Regions from separate parts of the Homo sapiens genome. Here region 2 is linked to region 1. The links are contacts of gene promoters, found by promoter capture Hi-C in human tissues and cell types (Jung and others, 2019). All regions are on one chromosome and are shown on one strand. The core of a region is centred on a gene start or on the middle of the fragment in contact, and the rest is flanking DNA. Distances in the headings are between cores, read along the strand shown. Region 1 holds the start of EIF2AK4 (eukaryotic translation initiation factor 2 alpha kinase 4). Region 2 overlaps FSIP1 (fibrous sheath interacting protein 1).

Region 1 (4,495 bases), core at 1,099-3,598:
TGAATCATTTGGGAGCTAACTGCATATTTAATACGTCACTGCCCCCTTAATGCTGCATTTGGTATAATACTGCCATGTAATCCACAGATTCCTTTCAAATTTTGCTGTTTGTTTTAATTATATCTTTTATAGGTCCAGCGTCCAGTATAGATTCTAATTTTACACAATGGAAATATTTGAACATAGATTAGGTATTAAACGATGCTAAGAAATTGTTAATTTTTTTTTAAGAGACAAGGTCTTACTCTGTTGCCCAGATTGGAGTGCAGTGGTGCAATCACAGCTCACTGCAGCCTTGGACTCCTGGGCTCAAGCAATCCTCCCACTCAGCCTCCTGAGGGTGGGACTACATGTCACCTCGTCCAGCTAATTTTTTATTTTATTTTTTGTAGAGATGGGGCCTCGCTATGTTGCCCAGGCTGGTCTCAAACTCCTGGCCTCAAGTGATCCTCCACCTTGTGCTGGGATTACAGGTGTGAGCCACTGTCCCTGGCCAAAGGGTTACATTTTTAGGGTATAAGATTAGTAATATGTTATGTTGGTTCCTTTTCTAGTTAGAGATATATCCTTAGGTATTTATTTTTTAAAATGATATGATTGAGACTTAAAAAAAACACTCCTGAGGGATGGAGAGAAGAGATGAAATAAAATTGACAAAATATCTATGGTTGTTGAAGCTGGATGATGAGTACAGAGGAGTTTACTTCTAAGTATGTTTGACATTTTCATAAATATAGGTTTAAAAGAATTTTTTTAAAGACCAATAGAGAAATGGAGTAATTTTAAGGATTAGAGTGCAATGGCCATATTTGCAATTTAGAAACATTACTCTGGCTGCAATAGGAAGAATGGCTTAATGTGGGGCAAGAATGAAGACAGTGACTAATTAAGAGAGTTATTGAAGTAACCCAGGGAATTGGTGACAGTAGCCTGAACTAAGTTAGTGGCAATGGGTTAGAGTGTAGTGGATGGACAGAAGTGGTGACTATTTGGATGTGAGTTGAGAGAAAGGGAATTCAGAATCACACTCAGTTGAATGGTGCCATTTACCTAGTCAGAGATCACTGGAGAAGGAACGGGTCTCCAGCAGAGGGAAGATGATGATTTAAATTGGCCTTGGGTCAAGCTAGTGCATTTGTGTTATCTGGCCAGAAATGAGTGGATAGATGGCAGCAAGGAATTTACACAATCATTATTTAGTGAACAGTGGAGGAGTAAGCAAGGTAGACAGAAGAAACGTCACTTAAACCTAACTTGGGTTAGTACAATAGGATTATTCGAAATGGACATGCAGCATTAGTAAGTTACTGAAGATGAAGTGCAATAACAATGTCTGGGTAGACAGGTTATTATTTTATAAACTTGAAAAACGACGACTTGAGGCAGGATATAACACAAAGACTCCCTAAATTCACACTGAGTGAACTGGGAAGGGAACATGATTCTCTTCATGGGAAGGTAGCTCATAAAGATGCCTGAGTGGAAAGACAGTTTTCAATTGAATTTGCAAGGTGGTAGTGGAGATCCCCAAAGCTGGGGAATGTAGAGACAGAGAACATAATGAGGGTGTTGAATCTGTGGCTCAGAGAATAAGTTTGGGGGTACTAAAGTGGGAGGAAGGAGGGTGGGGGGGGTCACAATTTTTACTCCCGGTAGTCTTGTTCTGGGAAGGTACAAGGTGAAATTAGAAGTGACCTCAGAACCCATCGACGTCTGCCCTTTAAGAGTTTCCCGGCCGGGCGCGGTGGCTCATGCCTGTAATCCCAGCACTTTGGAAGGCCGAGGCGGGCGGATCACAAGGTCAGGAGATCGAGAACATCTTGGCCAACATGGTGAAACACCATCTCTACTAAAAATAGAAAAATTAGCCGGGCGTGGTGGTGCGCGCCTGTAGTCCCAGCTACTCTGGAGGCTGACGCAGGAGAATCGCGTGAACCCGGCAGGCGGAAGTTGCAGTGAGCCGAGATCGCGCCACTGCACTCCAGCCTGGGGAACAAGAGCCGAAACTCTGCCAAAAAAAAGAAAAAAGAGTTTCCCGCACTAGCCATGCCAGGGTGGAGAAGTTCCAGCAAGCACTTCTGTTAAAGATACTTGTTTCGTGAAAACTATACAATGTGGCGTTTTCATTCCTATCTGTGATTCATTTCTTAAGTTCGTGGAGTTCCTTTGCTCCCCTTCCCCCAGCAGGATGTGGGCAAAGCTGTCCCCCTGCCTTCTTCCTTCGCCTGGGCTTCTGGAGCCTCCGGAGCTAGCTCCCGGCGCGGAGCTCCGCCTACGGCCCGTCCCCGGCGCGGAACCCCGCCCACGAGCCCGTTTCCAGCGTGGAACACCGCCCATAGCCCGTCCCCAGCGCGGAGCCCCGCCCCGCAGGCTGCCGGGGGCCCACCGCCGCCCAGGCAAGGCCGCCCTGCCTTGGGCGCAGCGCTGCCATGGCTGGGGGCCGTGGGGCCCCCGGGCGCGGCCGGGACGAGCCTCCGGAGAGCTACCCGCAACGACAGGACCACGAGCTACAGGCCCTGGAGGCCATTTACGGCGCGGACTTCCAAGACCTGCGGCCGGACGCTTGCGGACCGGTAGGAACGTGGCTTGTCAGGCCCGGGCTGGCGTGCCCTGGCCTCCCCGGGCCCTGGGCCAAAGCCCGGACACTTCCAGATTGGGCCGCCGCTTTAGGATCCTGCAGTCTTTTCATCCCTTAGGTTCCACCCATGCTCACTTTAGTCCTTGCACCTGCAGCTGGTCTGCAGAATCCCACCTAGGCCGAATTCTTCTACAGTCCTTTCCCCATGATTTCCCCAGAGGAATCCCCCTGGATTCCTCCCTCTTACCTGGCACTGCTTCTTATTCCTGCCTACATCCCATAACATAACTGCCTCCTTCCAACCTTGTCCTTTTTCCCCTCTGAAAGCCCTTGCGGATGATACCACAGCAATTCATACGCGCCCCTTGCTACTTTGTTCTGAGAACGCTTTTTGGGCTCTCGCACAGGCCTTACGTCCTCAATCAGAATTCTCAAGTCTCATCCATGCATTCAAATCTGCACGCCACATAATTCCCTCTGTACTCCCCAGGCATCCTCACTGTGTTTTCCGGTATGGAGGAACTTTCCATACCTCTGCACCTTCCTCTAAGACATTTAGCTCAGAATAAAGCACACATTCATCTTAGCTGTAGTAGAGAGAGGGTTCTAGACTGAGTCTAGAGAAGGAGTGTCCAATCTTTTGGCTTCCCTGGGCCACACACAAAATACACTAACACTAAGGATAGCTGATGACCTAAAAGAAAAAAAAAATTCGCAAAAAAACCTCAATGTTTTAAGAAAGTTTACGAATGCGTGTTGGGCCACATTCAAAGCGGCCCATGGGCCTCGGGTTAGACCAGCTTGCTCTAGCTCTAGACCTTTTAAAATGGCATTTTGTTTAAAATAATATTTTGCCTTTTTGTCTGGAAATTAAGGCACGTTATAAAGTATTTATACTGACAGTTTTTTCCCCATCCTTGAAGAGTTGATCTACCAAACTATTTCTGAATATTATCATATTATCATTTAAAACATAGTTCTAACTTCATCTGCTTTTTTTTTTTTTCTTTTTGAGACAGGGTCTTGCTCTGTCTCCCAAGCTGGAGTGCAGAGGCATGACCACGGCTCACTGCAGCTTATTCTCAAGCAATCCTTCTGCCTCAGCCTGTCAAGTACCTGGGACTACAGGCACATGCCACTACACCTGGTTAATTTTTTTAATTTTTTGTAGAGACAGAGTCTTGCTCTGTTGCCCGGGCTGGTATCAAGTTCCTGAGCTCATGCAATCCTCTCACCTTGGCCTCTGAAAGTGCTGGGATTACAGGTGTGGGCCACCGCGCCTGGCCTCTTCATCTGCTTTTAACTTTGGCATTTCACAACATCTGCTCTATCTACACATCCAGGATTTCCTCAAGAAATACCATCTTCTGGAGCTATCAGGACAAAATATTCTCTCTCAAACTCAGGGTGCTTCTTCCTTCATTAAATATTTGTTTTAGGCATTAGGAATACAGCTGTGGGCAAAACAGACAAAAATCCTTGCCCTCAGGGAGCTTACTTTTCTAATGCTTAATAATATGAAGTTATTTTTAACCTGAAATGGTAAAAATATAAATTATTCCCCTTAACATGACAGAGAAGTTGGTGACTGGGGAACTTCTATCTTCCCAAACCTTGAGAATCAGGAAGTAGGCCCAAGAAGCAGCCAAAATAGGTGTCTCAAAGTGTACATGGGACTCAACACAAAGCTCCTAAGGCTTCATTCTGAACTAGTTTGTTTACTTTATACAAGCTTAGTTGTCTGCTCCTAGGGCTGCAGAAAAATGGAAGAGAAAAAGCAACTTCTTTTAGGTAGGGATATTGATAACCTCAAGAATTTATAGCTGGTGGCTTTCATAACAAGATGGAATACTAGACAAACCAAAGCAAAAACTATAGAAGGCAGGCAGAAGAATTTAAATAGCTGTCTGTGGCCTA
Region 2 (4,495 bases), core at 1,240-3,739, 320 kb before region 1:
TAACACAGTGAAACTCCATCTCTACTAAAAATACAAAAAAAAAAAAAAAAAGTCAAACTCATGGAAGTGGAGAGTAGAATGGCAGTTACCAGTGGCTGGGGGATGAAGAGGGGGAAAAAGGGAATGGAGAGTTGTTGGCTAAAGGGTACCAGTTTTCACTTAGGAAGAATAAATTTTGAGATGAATTGCACAGCAGGGTAACTACAGTCATTAATCACATATTGTATGTTTCAAAATAACTAAGAGTAAATTTCAAGTGTCTTACCACAAAAAAATGGTAAGTGAGGTGATAGATAATGTAAATTAGCTTAATTTACTCATCTCACATTGTATACATACATCAAATCATCATACTTTACCCCACAAATGTATATAATTATGCCAATCTAAAAAATATTAATTTAAAAATTACAGCTTGCGAAATTTCATGTAAGAAACAAAAAATCCAAATATTTATATAGAATGTGTGACTTACATAATTCTTAAGCAACATTACCTACTTTCATTGGTAATGTAAAGAATAAATGTGAACCATATTTTCAGTGTTTTATTCTAAAACTGGTTATACATTTAAATTCTTTTATTTATTAAACAGGCACTTGGCTTAAGGCAGCACTTTAGACACCATGGAAAATGTAACAATGAATTGCAAGATAGAGTCTCTGTTTTTAAAAATGTTATGCAGTTTTAAGGAAGAGAAGGTGAGTGTGTATGTGATCCTATAGGAAACCAAAGTGCTTGGACATTCACAGAAGACAGAAAACTTAACAGAGGGGACCAGGGAAGGCTACAATCAGAGAGGATAAGGTTGGAATTCAAATACCATTGAAGGGGTACCTGAACATTTCTGGGAAGAAGAGGGCCTGAACAACAGCAGAAGCTAGGAAATCACCGAAATCATTAGACCAGATTAGCTACACACTGAATAACATTTAGGTGACTACTTAGAGATTGATTAGGAAAAGAACTTCAGGTCAGATCATGGAGACACTGAACAAGTTAAGGAATTCTGATTTTGATCAACAGGCATTGGAGAGCCATAGAAGGAAGTGTGGTTATCAAAGCTGTGCTTTAAGGAAATTCGTTTAGTGGTTGTCAACAATGGTAGGAAGAGAAGAGAGACTTGAGGCAGGGAGGTCTGGGAGAAGGGTTATGGCATTGGTCCAGTTGAAGTTGTAGGAAGAGAAAGGAAGGGATGGGCATGAGAGACACCGCAGGAATAGAACAAACAACACCTGAACACTGGAAGTGGGAAGCAAGAAAGAGAAGTAATTCAGTGATGACTCAGATTTTGCTCCTGGGTGACTAAGGAAATGGAAGTCAAAACCGAAATCTGACTCAGTTCAGAGTTAATGGATTATAGATTTAATAAGGAATAGATTAATAGATAGAAATGTAATAGCCAATATATTTTAGAGTAATCTACAATAGAGGTAAAAATTGAATCTATTTAAATAGATTCACCAATTGTTACACAGATTTCTAACATAAATAATTGAATATTTGTTTGTGTCGAAAACTAGTTATTGTTGTATCCTGTACCATGACCATTGCAAGATGAAACACTAGATCGTGACGAAACACCTGAGAACATAGGAGTGGCTCAGGAGAGGAGGTTTGCATACAGAAACTAATATAACCACAATGAGTTACAAGTTTTACATTTTAAATTCATTCCTTAGAACAAATTTTCATCACTAAAGTTTGAAAATACTAAAGTTTGAAGTTGAAATACTAAGCAAATCTATTCAAAGTATTTCTCTCCATTCAAACTAATTTCTCTTTTCCTGTGAAACCAACATTATTTTCTGGATGACACAATTAATTACCATCAAGAATAACGTATTTCATAGAGTACTAACCTCAACTTTGATTTCATAAGAGCATTGGGAAATAGGTTTTATGTTTGCATACTCTTATTGACGCTACCTGTGACTTACAAACATACCTTCTTACCCGACTCTAATTTAAACCATAATACCTTTATATTGAGGTGCTTTTAAGAATTATTTACCAAAACACATGTTCGCCAAGCCTCACCTGCTATTGTATTCTCTGGAGAACTGAGTTTCAGATGTTGGTCTTCTGATGAAAGGCTCACACTGATACCATACAGTGGATCATCTAAGAAGGAGGGCCTTTTCAGTCTCCCAATGCCAAGAGTCTTCGACATAAAATAGTCTTTTGTGTCACTAATAATAACGTCCTTGGAAAATTGAAGGCATTTCATATTCTCTGCTTCAGTGACAAGAGCTTCTGACATGTTATGTCCAGTCAAGGCTTTAGTGAGATAGTAGCCTTTAGAAGCTTCACATTCTTCACTCTCAAGCATATCTGCATCTTCTACCTCAGTTTTCTGGACCTTTGTTTCTGATTCATTTAGCAATTTAGAGATGATGGACCTGGAAAGCTGGGGGAACACAGGTGTTACGTCCTCAATGTCTTCCTTTTTTCTTTCTGAAGAAAGTTTAATGATGGATTTTTGTTTAAGTATGCATTCATCCAGAAGACACTTTAACTGTTCTTCAGAGAGACATGATGTGGACTCTAACTGATGAAACAAACCAAAAGATTACATAGTCAGTTGACTGAGTAAACACATTTATTTTTGGTAGGCATCCAGTAATACAAATATAAATGCAAGTAACCCCTTACACAACACATAAAAATAGAAAAATAATTCATTGTAAAGTATCCAAAACTGTAGGGGAAATGTCATAATCCTGGCAAAATCTTTGGTTGGTGTTTCTCTGACCCCACCCATCCCTCAGCATGAATCCCACCACCATCCAATTCCTTACTGGGAAAAAAATTGGCATACAAGGCAGACTACCCCTACCTCTGGGGATTCAGCACTCCCATGTCTGTCCACAACTATCAGTGGACAATACTGCTGAAGACAGAAAAGGAAGGGTGAAGGGTGGTGCATCCTGCAATGTGTCGTTGCTGCAAAGCTACAGGTCTAGGCAGAGGCCAGGGGCATTCCAGAGGCGGTGTATTTGGGGAGAATGATTTGATCATGCATACTTAATCTCTGCTTGTAAAGGTTACCAGGGCTAAGTGTTTCAACCAAGACCTTAAATATTTAAAAACATTTTTTTTCTTTCAGCAATATTCTCAGGAAATAAATTTTTAAAAATCAAATGAAAGTAGAGAGCCATGTCCCACAAGACTTCAGCTGAATACCATAACATTTGAGTTGCAACAATCTCAAAAAGGAATGAGATTAAAATATAGTGAAACACACTGAAAAAAAAATGTCTACTTCCCCAAAAAATCAGTGTCTTCCATGGTTTACATGTGGATTATCTAGGAAAAGACTAATCCTCCTTTACAGGGGGATGAATTATCTGAGAACAAGAAGTCCCCATAAGAAAACTTAATCATGAATTTCAATGACTTTAATTTCTACTTCAGCAAAGTAAAATAATGTTATTGGCCTACTCTGAAGGTACATAGTAAAAAATAACTAAATATTCTGCATATGTAAAGTACTGAAATAAAAAGCTATTACTGATACTAGTATAGTTAATTCTCCACTATTAGGTAAAGCTTCTAATGCAACTAATAAATACTAATATGTAAAACAATTTTGTGCCATGTTTAAAAAATATTGTTTAAAATTATGTTTAACTTACCTATATTAAAACTAGTTTTTACAGTGGCAAGTGTCACTATGAGTATGAGGATAATAAGAAATTGTCTGGAAATATATTCTTAGTAATTATTTGGAATTCAAAATTCAGGTGACTGACCCTAAGGTTAATATACATGTCAAGAAATAGGATTTGAGATTTGGAATTCAAAATTCAGGTGACTGACCCTAAGGTTAATATATATGGCAAGAAATAGGATTAGAATTATGTATTAGCAAATTCTACTTTTAGTCACTAGGCATTTCAGGAATCCAGATATAGTATTTTATCCATCTGTATCCAGAATCAGGAGCATTATCTCCACCCTACTATGGAAACCTAGTCAAGTAGAAAATGAAGGAAGTCCTTCTATGACATTAGATACCTAAAACACACTTTCAAACTTTGCTTATGTAAAATTACATATAATGTGTAGACAATTCCCTACGATTTAGAAAGAGCCCGCTGAGTGTCATCCTTACCAAACATCCTCATCAAAGCCTTATTATGATGAAATTTTTAGACACTAGAAAAAAAATCAGTCCATATTAGAGCAGGAGGAGGTCTCTAGGGAAAAAAGGGTAGGAGGGAGGATTGGTAGATTATCCAATATGCTTGACCATTTCCAAAAGTAATATTGATATGATAGATGTTTGGCAGTTCTGATGATGTATTTGGCTAAATACACAGAAAATGAAGCAGAAGGAAAATCAAAGCAATTATGAACTCTGGGGAAAACAAAAAGTTTTACAAAAAAAAGGAAAAGCAGTGACATATACACAGAAAATTAGGCAAAAGAAACTAAGATAATTATGAAGTCTAGGACAAACAAAAAGTTACATGAGAAAGGATGCCATAGG

The links. Contacts are between HindIII fragments. The study calls those that stand out against the background at their distance.
Region 2: a contact is called between a fragment that was not itself captured here and the fragment with the promoter of EIF2AK4 in region 1, in 1 of the 25 tissues and cell types used here (IMR-90 fibroblasts).

What each region holds. Positions count from the first base shown.
Region 1 is chr15:39,931,767-39,936,261 of GRCh38, forward strand. EIF2AK4 (eukaryotic translation initiation factor 2 alpha kinase 4) reads left to right here and starts at 2,349. Exons shown (of 39, transcript NM_001013703.4): 1 at 2,349-2,573. The coding sequence starts at 2,430. RefSeq lists an enhancer at 2,062-2,201 and a silencer at 2,222-2,631. The HindIII fragment of the contact is 10,364 bases long and covers 1-4,495 here.
Region 2 is chr15:39,615,695-39,620,189 of GRCh38, forward strand. FSIP1 (fibrous sheath interacting protein 1) reads right to left here. Exons shown (of 12, transcript NM_152597.5): 11 at 2,041-2,551. Among named protein-coding and RNA genes, the nearest start is that of THBS1-IT1, 32 kb to the left of the region's middle. RefSeq lists an enhancer at 1,640-2,839. The HindIII fragment of the contact is 4,351 bases long and covers 315-4,495 here.